Regions from separate parts of the Homo sapiens genome. Here regions 1, 3 and 4 are each linked to region 2. Evidence: promoter capture Hi-C in human tissues and cell types (Jung and others, 2019). All regions are on one chromosome and are shown on one strand. Each heading gives the region's core, a stretch centred on a gene start or on the middle of the fragment in contact. The rest is flanking DNA. Distances are from core to core; before and after follow the strand shown.

Region 1 (2,713 bases), core at 71-2,570, 260 kb before region 2:
AAATCTATTTATTCTTTTTTTTTTTTTTGAGACGGAGTCTCACTCTGTCGCTGGGCTGGAGTGCAGTGGTGTGATCTCGGCTCACTGCAACCTCCGCCTCTCCGGTTCAAGTGATTCTCCTGCCTCAGACTCTCAAGTAGCTGGAACTACATATGCACGCCACCACGCCCAGTTAATTTTTTTGTATTTTTAGTAGAGACGGGATTTCACCATGTTGGCCAGGATGGTCTCGATCTCTTGACCTCATGATCCGCCTGCCTCGGCCTCCCAAAGTGCTGGGATTACAGGCATGAGCCACCACGCCTGGCCCCATTTATTCTTAATTGAATATAAATTATTACTTATATTTTAATTATATGAATATAATTTAAAAGTTTGCAAGCTTTCAATGGTTCCATCTGTTTGTAATTAGTTATGAGTTTGGATATGAAATGGTAGACTAACTGACCCAGACATACATTGTAAAATCCAACGTTTTCTCCAGTGTTTTCTTTTTTCTTTCTTTTCTTTTTTTTTTTTAAGATACAGTTTCACTCTGTCACCCAGCTGGAGTGCAGTGGCGCAATCTCGGCTCACTGCAACCTCTGGCTCCCAGGTTCAAGTGATTCTCATGCCTCAGCCTCCCAAGTAGCTGGGATTACAGGCGCGTGGCACCATGCCTGGCTAATTTTTTGTATTTCTATTAGAGATGGGGTTTCGCCATGTTGGCCATACTGGTCTCGAACTCCTGACCTCAAGTGATCTGTCCGCCTAGGCCTCCCAAAGTGCTGCGATTACAGGCATGAGCCACTGTACCCACAATGTTTTTCAACTCTTGTAGAAGTTGCTATTGTCTATATTTTGAGTATATTGAATGCAAAAAATGTCAAAATGCAAGTTTATAATTTATGATGAACTGAGGAGTATTTAAAATTCCCTTTGAAGGTCTTCGACTCTATGTAATTGCCCATTGACTAATGAAAATGGTGGACAGTCAAATATATATTAACTTTGGAAGGTGCATGATTTTCTCAACTAGTTCCAAAGAAAGAGACAAAATAACTTTTTTGTTAAAATCAGATGGAGATGGTAGAATAATTATAATAGAGTTTGTAATGTTTTCTACACTGTTTATCATCATGAGTCTTTAGGCTCAGAATGCTACTGTTGAGTGTGTTTCTCATTAATGAATGTCCAATAGATAAAGGAATGAAATAAGTTGAATATGACAAATGACGAAGGTTTGTCACAACATAAATGGCATCAAGACTGTAACTGCAGGAATTCTGTAAGCAAATTATATAAAACAAGGAATTGTTAAGTAGAAGCAAATTATCAGGGAAAGAGTTATGTCATTAGAACTGTGATCCCCAAGCTTTTTAGTACCAGGGACCGGTTTTGTGGAAGACAATTTTTCCATGGATAAGGGAGAGGGGTTTGGGGGCAGATGGTTTCAGAGGCATTAGATTCTCATAAGGAGCATACAACCTAGATCCCTCTCTTGTGCAGTTCACAGTAGGGTTTGCACCCCTATGAGAATCTAATGCTGCTGCCGATCTGACAGGAGGCGGAGATCAGGCAGCAATGCTCACTCATCTGCCACTCACCCTCTGCTATATGGCCCCATTCCTAACAGGCCATAGTACTCATCTGTGGCCCCAGGGGTTGGGGACCCCTGATTTAGAATGTATTTCAGATAAACAACAAATAATTTTATGATGAGTATGTCACATACAATATTTATCTTTTATCTCACTGCACATATACATAGGGAATTAGAAATAATTCAAATTTAACCAGGTCAAGTATCAGTTACAAAATTTGACAATTCTTTTCATCGTAATTTTTTTCTGAACCTATGCATTATATTGAGCATCCTCATTTTTGAACCTAGTAACTCATTCACAGAATTTCTGCTACCCTTCTTCTTTTTTCTTTTTTTCTTTTTTTTTTTTTGAGACAGAATCTTGCTCTGTCACCCAGGCTGGAGTGCATTGGCGCGATCTCAGCTCACTGCAACCTCTGCCTCCCGGCTTCAAGCGATTCTTCTGCCTCAGCCTCCTGAATAGCTGAGATTATAGGCGCCCGCCACCATGCCCGGCTAATTTTTTTTTTTGCCCTGTCGCCCAGGCTGGAGTGCAATGGCATGATCTCAGCCCACTGCAACCCCCTCTTCCCGGGTTAAAGCAATTCTCCTGCCTCAGCCTCCCGAGTAGCTGTGATTACAGGCACGCACCACCACGCACAGCTAATTTTTTGTATCTTTAGTAGAGATAGGGTTTCACCATGTTGGCCAGGCTGGTCTCGAACTCCTGACCTTATGATCTGCCTGCCTCGGCCTCCCAAAGTGCTGGGATTACAGGCTTGAGCCACTGTGTCTGGCCACTTCTTCTTAATTGTAAATTCTGCTGGTTGGGGGCCCTTTGTTCCAAGGAAGGAGAGGTTCCACCAGAAGTAAATATTATTACATTTAATTGAAGGGTGATACAGCTACTTGTTCATCTGGGGATCCTTGTGTCACTTAAGCAAGAAGGGATTGCTTTTTTGCTTTGGATGAGTTAGGCTGAGTTGCTGCCATGGAATGGGAAGCATAGAGAGTTATGTCTGAGACCAGGGGATTTCTGGGGGATGTTTTGGTAAGTTCATGTTCAGAAATAAAACTAGCAACTCATCGAAGGGAGGACTTCTAAGAATCAGAAGTTTAGGTTTTGATATTTGGGGACATCCTCCAGGT
Region 2 (2,700 bases), core at 73-2,572:
TATATAACATATATAAGTATATATAACATATATAAGTATATATATAACATATATATCCTACATTTTCAACACGTGTAACAAATGTGGATAGTTTCAAAAAGATCATTTTACGTTCTAGTAGTTACCCTGTTTGACCAAAGTGTAGTACTTTTATTTTTCTATTGCAGTGCATTTTCTTTTTTTTTTTTGGCGGGAGGTGAGGGAGCGGAGCGGGGATGGAGTCTCACTCTGTCACCGAGGCTGGAGTTTAATGGCGTGATCTCGGCTCACTGCAGCCTCTGCTTCCTGGGTTCAAGTGATTCTCCTGCCTAAGCCTCCTGAGTAGCTGGGATTACAGGAGCCCGCCACCACGCCTGGCTAATTTTTTGTATTTTTAGTAGAGACGGGGTTTCGCTATGTTGCCCAGGCAGTCTCGAACTCCTGATCCGCCCGCCTTGGCCTCCCAAAGTTCTGGAATTACAGGAGTGAGCCACCGTGCCCGGCCTTTTTTCTGTTTTTTTTTTTTTTTTTTTTTTTTTGAGACGGAGTCTCTCGCTCTGTCGCCCAGGCTGGAGTGCAGTGGTGTGATCTCGGCTCACTGCAACCTCCACCTCTGGGGTTCAAGTGATTCTCCTGCCTCAGCCTCCCCAGTAGCTGGGATTACAGGCACCCACCATCATGGCCAGCTAATTTTTGTATTTTTAGTAGAGACAGGGTTTCACCTTGTTGGTCAGGCTGGTCTCAAACTCCTGACCTCAGGTGATCTACCCGCCTCGGCCTCCCAAAGTGCTGGCATGACAGGCGTGAGCCACCGACCCAGCCCTTTTTTCTTTTATATAGTTTTTGAGACAGGGTCTTGCTCTGTTGCCCAGGCTGGAGTGCAGTGGTGCGATCATACCTCACTACACCCTCGATCCCCAAGGCTCAAGTCATCCTCCAACCTCTGCCTCCTGACTATCTGACACTACAGGCGTGGGTAATTTTTAAATTTTTTTGAGACATAGTCTCACTTTGTTGTCCAGGCTGGAGTGCAGTGGCATGATCTCAGCTAGCTAATTTTAAAATTTTTTGTAGAGATGGGTGGGGGGAGGGTCTCACTATGTTGCCCAGGCTGGTCTCCAACTCCTGGGCACAAGCGATCCTCCCGCCTCGGCCTCCCAAAGTGCTGGGATTACAGGCATGAGCCTGGCCAGCATTTTCTGTTTGAATGTTTTTACGTAACCGGAGTCGTCATGATGGAGGTACAGTTCCTTGGACTTCCGGCTCCCATGGCTCTGGAAATCTCAGCTCGGACCCGCCCCTTCCGGCGCCGACTCCCCTGATTCTCCTGGGAACAGAAGAGTTCTGGGCACAGCACGCTGCGTCTGCGCAGTGCCGGGCGCAGGCCTCCCGACCTACGGGTCTAGGTACGGGCTCTAGCGTGGCCGGGGCACATAGAGTTCCTGGCCTAGAGCTGGTGGGGCGTAACGGCAGGAGTTAGGGTTCAGAGAAAACCAGCCCAGGGGCGGGTTCATCCTGTTACCCATTCAGCCTCAAGCGAGGTGGGGTGTGGTAGGTGGGCTGGTGCTAGAAACCACGCCGGGAATTGTTAATAACAGTCATCCCGGCCGGGCGCGGTGGCTCACGCCTGTCATCCCAGCACTTTGGGAGGCCGAGGAGGGCGGATCACCTGAGGTCAGGAGTTTGATATTAGCCTGACCAACGTGGCGAAACCCCGTCTCTACTAAAAATACAAAAATCAGCCGGGCATGGTGGTGGGCGCCTGTAATCCCAGCTACTCGGGAGGCTGAGGCAGGAGAATCGCTTGAACCCGGGAGGCGGAGGTTGCAGTGAGCGGAGATGGCGCCACTACAATCCAGCCTGGGCGACAGAGCGAGACTCCGTCTCAAAACAACAACAAAACCCCCAAAAAAGCGGTCATCCTCCAGGTGGAAGAGACAGAAGAGAGGGTGCGGAAGAGACTTAAAAGTCTTAGGCCTTCAAGCGTGTTTGCCTCAGCCACCCGTGAATCCTACAGGAAAACTAAAACAACTCGGCCACAAGCCCCCAAGTCTTGGGGAAGCGGACGGTTTCCCAGCCGAGCTTTAGGAGGAGGCGCCGCGGGACCTCACGGGTGACGTCGTCCCCGGGGGTAGTTTGCGCAGAGGGTCGCTTTGGGCGCGCTTAGAGTCGCGTGGTGCCTGGGCCAGCGAAGCCCAGGTGCAGTCATTTGTGGCCCTGTCCCGGCGCGCGAGGGGCCAAGGCTGGTCGGGGGCCGGGTCCGCGCGGTAGCAACTGCGTCCTGCCAGCTTCCATCTCTCCCTCTGAGGGCCTGAGCGGCTGCCAGAGTCAGGTCTGCAGGCCGGGCGCTCACGCGTCTGTGCCCAGTGAGGCCCCAAGATGCTGGTGAGGCCTCGACCCTGACTGGTGTCCAGGCTCTTGACACTGTCGTGAGAAGGAATTCATGGATGAGCAGAACAAAGTGTGGAGATTCATTGCGACGGGAATAAGTACGTACTGAAGAAAGAAAAGTGCAGGCATACCACAGAGCATCACGCCCAGCGGGGTTTGGAGCTACCTTTAAATATTTATTTAACCAAGGGGTGGAATATTCATGAAGATTCTTGGAAAAAGGTAAACATTTCTTGGTACTGCGGTGCCACACATTTTTATACTAAATACGGGTGTTCCCCAGAGCTGTCACAGTGGGTGTGTGACTTAGTATGTTAATGAGCACATAAT
Region 3 (2,892 bases), core at 161-2,660, 450 kb before region 2:
CTGCTCAAGGCCTCCTAGGAAACAATGCAAGAATTTTGTTGTCCTAATTTATGGCCTGGATCCCTACACTTTCTCTGGACCAGAGGTCATCCTGAGGACAAGTCGGCTGTTATGACAGGCTCCTGTGCTTTAGGGAATAAGATGGATTTATTGCATTGTTCTACAGGCTGTAATGCCCAGCACTGTTGAGACGAAGCTTTTTCCCAGCTTCTGCAAAGGAACCTATGTGCCCTGATGCCCATGATTCCATAGATGGTGGTACTCAAGCTGATGGGAGCTAAGCATGGGACATAATTGGTACAGAAATTTTGGGTATGATTAATAGAAAGTGGAGGAGGTAATAGCAAAACAAATGTGCCTGTGGTAAAAGTGCATCTACACATCTAGTAACTGGCTGTGTCTATTTTTACAACACACACAATCTCCTTGTACAAGGTGTGACAGTGTAGGCATAGCCTGGCTTAGAGGGAACAGCTCCATTCTGCAGCATGATTGTCAGAGCATGGAGCCAGGCAAGCAACCTGGAGGATTACTTGGGATGATTTAATGTGAGTGCAGGAGGACATGTGGGAGGTAGAGAATCAGAAGGAGCCTGGGTAGCAGAAACCTTAACTTGGAAATGACATCCCCCATCATAGGCTTTATCCTCTGCCACAGTTACCCTATTTTCAGAGGCAGTGTCCCTCACCCTTGTGCCCTACATGGAGCTCAACCCTCAGATGTCCTGGTTCTCTGTGCCTTTCCCAGTGACCAAGCAATAGGTTCTAATATCTAACAGTCTGAGGTCAACTTTCTGTTTGACTTGCCAGGCATTGGTGCCTTTCAAGGTCATGGCCCTGACCTTCATCTGGTAGAAATGTGGATATTTGGGCCTGGCCCAGAGGACACTGCACCAAGATGTGAGGCTGCAGAACTGTGGGCTCTTGGTCTTGCTGGGTAAAGCTTTATTTCTGTCCCATGTGGGTGACCCTAGTCCTCTGATTCCATCCTCTTGCACATACTGCCTGGTGAGAAAGGCATCTCAAGCCCTTCTCCCTCTACCCACAGGTCCTGTTGTATTCTCTGTTTTGGTCTCACATGCTTTTGCCTGGTCTCCCTGTGTCTGCACTGGGGATCACTGGGGTAGAAACAGCCCTTTAAACACAAATCCTCACCCTAGTGCCCAGCACACTCTGCCCTCTGTCTGAGGTCCTTATTCCAGAATTCAGGCAAGAAAACTTGATCTAGCCTGGTTGGGTCAGGTATCCCCAGAGATTGGTTAACAGGACTGTGGGTAGTGGATTATTCTCGAAGAAGGGGCTGAGCTAGGCAGGACTCCAAGGTAGCATGTCCATCAATATCCCCCAGGTATCTTATTATATAATGCTGCCTCTTTTTTTTTTTGATGGAGTCTCACTCTCGCCCAGGCTGGAGTGCAGTGGCATGATCTTGGCTCACTACAAACTCCACCTCCCAGGTTCAAACGATTCTCCTGCCTCAGTCTCCTGAGTAGCTGGGATTATAGGCGTGTGCCACCACACCCGGCTAATTTTTGTATTTTTAGTAGAGATGAGGTTTCACCACGTTGGCCAGGCTTGTCTCAAACTCCTGACCTCAGGTGATCCAGCTGCCTCGGCCTCCCAAAGTGCTGGGATTACACGCATGAGCCACTGCGCCCAGCTGCTTTTTTATTTTTTAAAGAGCTCCTTATGTCAGCATGAATTATCCTCATTTCCTGAGGCCTAAGTTATATTCTTCCAGTGGTAAGGGAGATGGTTTTAGAAAGCACAGAGGTAGGACATCAGGTGGCGTTGTAGGGCAGGTGAGCCCCAAAATTGGGGCTTAGTCCAAGAAGGTTCTTGGCTTCACTCAGGAAAGAATTCAAGAGCAAGCTAGTGGTAGATGGAAAATAGCTTTGTTGAGGCAGCAGGGTTACAACTCTGTGGCTGCTCCTACAGAGCAGGGCAACCCCATAGGCAGTGTGTCGAGTATCAGCTCAGGGGGCAGCTCTGCAATCATATTTATACCCGCTTTTAACTACATGCAAAGGGTGGGTTATTTGGAAATTTCTAGAAAAGGGATGGTAATTTCCGGGTGTTGTCATGGTGATGGTAAACTGCCATGGCACTGGTGGGTGTGTATTATGTAGATATGCTCTTGGTGCCTGTTCCCTGTTTCAGCCAGTCTTCAGTCTGGTATGGAGTCCTGCCTCCTATCTCACTCTCCCATCAGAGATTAGATACTCCTCTTTAATCTTAAGGGGGCTCTGTGACTGCTTGCTGCTGATTTTGTGGGCCTAGGCCCTGCCTAGCACTAAAGGAGTAAACATCCCTGGATACCACATATAAGGTCCCCAAAGGAAGGACACTTCCATTCTCTGGAATAGTAGACAAGGATGGGTTGGAAGCCTTGTGCCAGCATTGTCTTTACCTGGAACTAGAACAGGATACCCCAACCCCTCTCCTGTGGATACTGGTCCATGTCCTGTTAGGAACTGGGCTGCACAGTAGGAGGTGAGTGGCAGGTGAGTGAGCATTACTGCCTGAGCTCCACCTCCTGCCAGATCAGTGGCAGCATTAGATTCTCATAGGGGTGCTAACCTTATCATAAACTGTGCATGCAAGGGACTGGGGTTGCACACTCCTTATGAAAATCTAGTACCTGATGATCTGAGGTGGAAGAGTTTCATCCTGAGACCAGCCCCCAGCCCCAGCCCCACATACCCCATCCATAGAAAAATTGTCTTCCATGAAACTGGTCCCTGATGCCAAAAAGGTTGGGGACTATTGATCTAGAAAACACAAACTTTACTAAGAGGTTAAACAAGCAAGAGCCAAAGAAAATATACATAACAGGGTCACTTGCTTATAGATCTTTTGAATGTTAACCTATCCAGAGTTGCTAATATATGTG
Region 4 (2,700 bases), core at 25-2,524, 470 kb before region 2:
TTCCAACTAGTTTGCTACAGTACACACAGTACAGAAATACCCAGGTATTTCTGTACCAATTACAGTTCACATGTGACTCGCGTTGTCTTCTGCGTGACATCGGCCTATGGAATGTTTGATATCAGGGCATGCCTCCTTATAGAACCCCATGAAAAGCTTCTCAGCAGCACTGGGCATCATATGACATCCTCTGGAAACAATGGAATAAAATTGTCCTATTCCCTGAAGCACACATGCTTGTCATAACAGCTGGCCTCTCCTCAGGATGACCTCTAGTCTCACAGAAAGAATAGGGATCCAGGCCACAAATTAGAATAACCAAAACCTTGCATTTTTTCCTAGGAGATTTTAGGTAGCAAAGCAAGTATGACCAAAACCAGAATTAGAATTACTCTGTCATCTTACTTTCCTGCAGAGGCCCACAAAAGCCATCCATTCCTTCATATAGAGTTGAAGTCTGTCTCCCAGCCACCCCACACAGTAAACAGAACCCCAAGACTACAGGTAGATTCAAATATAAGGCTTTTATTAGTGCACAAACTGGAGCAATGTGAGGCAGCCATTCACCACGTGGTGACATGGAGGCTGGAAGAATGACCAAGTGTCATGTGAGACCAAGAATTTACATGAAGGGAATCCTTGCACATAAGTGTCCAGCAGAACCAAGGCTGGGCCCTCCTGACCCAAACTGGGTCACACGTATGCTGTGATCAGTCAGAAAAAAGAATGAATTTTCTCTAAAGGCTTAGACTGCTCAAGATTTCCTCCAAAGACTTAAGAGAACACACAGATGTCTGCCTTGTCTTAGCACATAGGAGTGACCAGTGCCCACTGTGCAAGGTGGTAGAGGGTAGATGGTTTCTACCAGAGAAACAAGGAAGAATGAGGTTCAACTTCAGGCAGATGGCTCCCTCACAAAGGCTCTCTACTGCTACAATACTACAGAGACAGCACTTTCCCTGTAGGTCTAAGGCTCTACTTAAGTGTGGACTTTCAGGAGCTAAATGATGATAGATCTTGAGTTGAAGGCGCTTCCACATTTGCTGCATTCATGAGGCCTCTATGTGTTATGACATTTTTGGTGATGTATGAGGCTGGAGCATTGGCTAAAGGAATTCCCACATTTGTTGCACTCATAAGGCCTTTCTCCAGTGTGAACCACTTGGTGTTGAATGAGACCAGACTTTTGGCTAAAGGACTTTCCACACTGGCCACACTCATAAGGCCTTGCTCCAGTATGAATTCTCCGGTGTTGAATAAGGATGGAGCTTTGACTAAAGGATTTCCCACAGTCACCACACTTATAAGGCCTTTCTCCAGTGTGAACTCTCTGGTGTTTAATGAGGGTAGCTTTTTGACTAAAGGATTTCCCACACTGGCCACACTCATAAGGCTTTGCTCCAGTGTGAATTCTTCGGTGTTGATTAAGAATGGCACTTTGACTAAAGGAATTCCCACATTCACCACACTTATAAGGCCTTTCTCCAGTGTGAACTCTTTGGTGTTTAACAAGGGTGGCTTTTTGGCTAAAGGATTTCCCACACTGGCTACACTCATAAGGCCTTGCTCCAGTGTGTATTTTCTGGTGGTCAACAAGGCTGGAGTTTTGTCTAAATAATTTTCCACATTCGCTGCACTCATAAGGCCTTTCTCCGGTGTGGATTCTCCGATGATCATTCAGGTGGGAGGTTTGGCTAAAGAATTTTCCACATTCATTGCACTCCCAAGGCCTTTCTCCAGTATGGACTCTCTGGTGCTGAACAAGTGAGTACTTGCCACGGAAGGCTTTCCCACATTTGCTACACTCATAAAGCTTTTTTCCAGTGTAGACTCTTGGATGGTAAACAGGAGTGTGTTTGTGCCTGGAAGCCTTCCCACATTCACCTGACTTGTAATGACTTTTTTGACTGCGAATGTCCTCCCCACATTCAGTAATTGTGCCGGGTTTCTTGCCTCCAGGAAAGACCAGGGACCTCAGAAGCCGCAACATGGCTGGAAGGTCCTTTCCAACCTCCCATTTGCGAAAGGGCTTCAATGACATACAGAATAGGCAGCACTTCACATATGAGGCTCTGTCCATGTCCCTCTTCAAGGATTTCTTTGCACTGTGATGCTTCTGGTGCTGGTGATGGTTTGTACATTCTCCAACCAAGTATGGTTTCTGCCCAGGGAGATCAGCTAGATGCAAAATATCTTTCAGGACTGGGACACACATCTCACAGGATTGAGTCTTCTGTGTGGATGAACCTGCCTTTGACTGTGACACTCCTACAGAAACATTCTGGTCAGAAGGTGTCTCTTCATCCTCTGTTCCATGGCCACAACCTGAAAGCAGAGAACCGCTGATGAAATATACATTGACTATGCTGAGAGCAAGAAGCCCCATTACACACATACCAAACGAATGATTCACCAGGTTTGTTTTGAGGATAATGGAGCTGGGGGCAAGTTGAGGAAGGGGTTGCTTTGCAATACTGGATCTCTAAAGATCACAGAATGAGGGAGGCCTCACCAAATAAAGGACACAAGGATGGGATGAAGGACAGGGAATGGCATTGCCTTCAAACCATTCCTCTACCAACAGCCTCAAAAATTATCCTTGAGTAGCCTTCCAATTCCTAAAACTCACCACATAGTCTTCAGGAGGACCTTGTCTGCTGGTGACACCTGCATGCTGTGCAGAAGGTTGACTGTGCCCAA

Evidence for each region. Contacts are between HindIII fragments. The study calls those that stand out against the background at their distance.
Region 1: a fragment that was not itself captured here is called in contact with the fragment with the promoter of USP29 in region 2 in 3 of the 25 tissues and cell types used here (adrenal gland, dorsolateral prefrontal cortex and spleen).
Region 3: a contact is called between a fragment that was not itself captured here and the fragment with the promoter of USP29 in region 2, in 1 of the 25 tissues and cell types used here (neural progenitor cells).
Region 4: a fragment that was not itself captured here is called in contact with the fragment with the promoter of USP29 in region 2 in 1 of the 25 tissues and cell types used here (dorsolateral prefrontal cortex).

The regions. Positions count from the first base shown.
Region 1 is chr19:57,383,586-57,386,298 of GRCh38, reverse strand. No RefSeq gene overlaps it. Among named protein-coding and RNA genes, the nearest start is that of ZNF548, 4.9 kb to the left of the region's middle. The HindIII fragment of the contact is 6,124 bases long and covers 1-2,713 here.
Region 2 is chr19:57,118,607-57,121,306 of GRCh38, reverse strand. It overlaps USP29 (ubiquitin specific peptidase 29), which reads right to left and starts at 1,322. Exons shown (of 4, transcript NM_020903.3): 1 at 1,078-1,322. The HindIII fragment of the contact is 14,839 bases long and covers 1-2,700 here.
Region 3 is chr19:57,568,509-57,571,400 of GRCh38, reverse strand. No RefSeq gene overlaps it. Among named protein-coding and RNA genes, the nearest start is that of ZNF416, 9.0 kb to the left of the region's middle. The HindIII fragment of the contact is 3,705 bases long and covers 1-2,892 here.
Region 4 is chr19:57,589,636-57,592,335 of GRCh38, reverse strand. ZIK1 (zinc finger protein interacting with K protein 1) reads right to left here. Exons shown (of 4, transcript NM_001010879.4): 4 at 1-2,325. The coding sequence ends at 1,061. Among named protein-coding and RNA genes, the nearest start is that of ZIK1, 6.8 kb to the right of the region's middle. The HindIII fragment of the contact is 6,497 bases long and covers 1-2,700 here.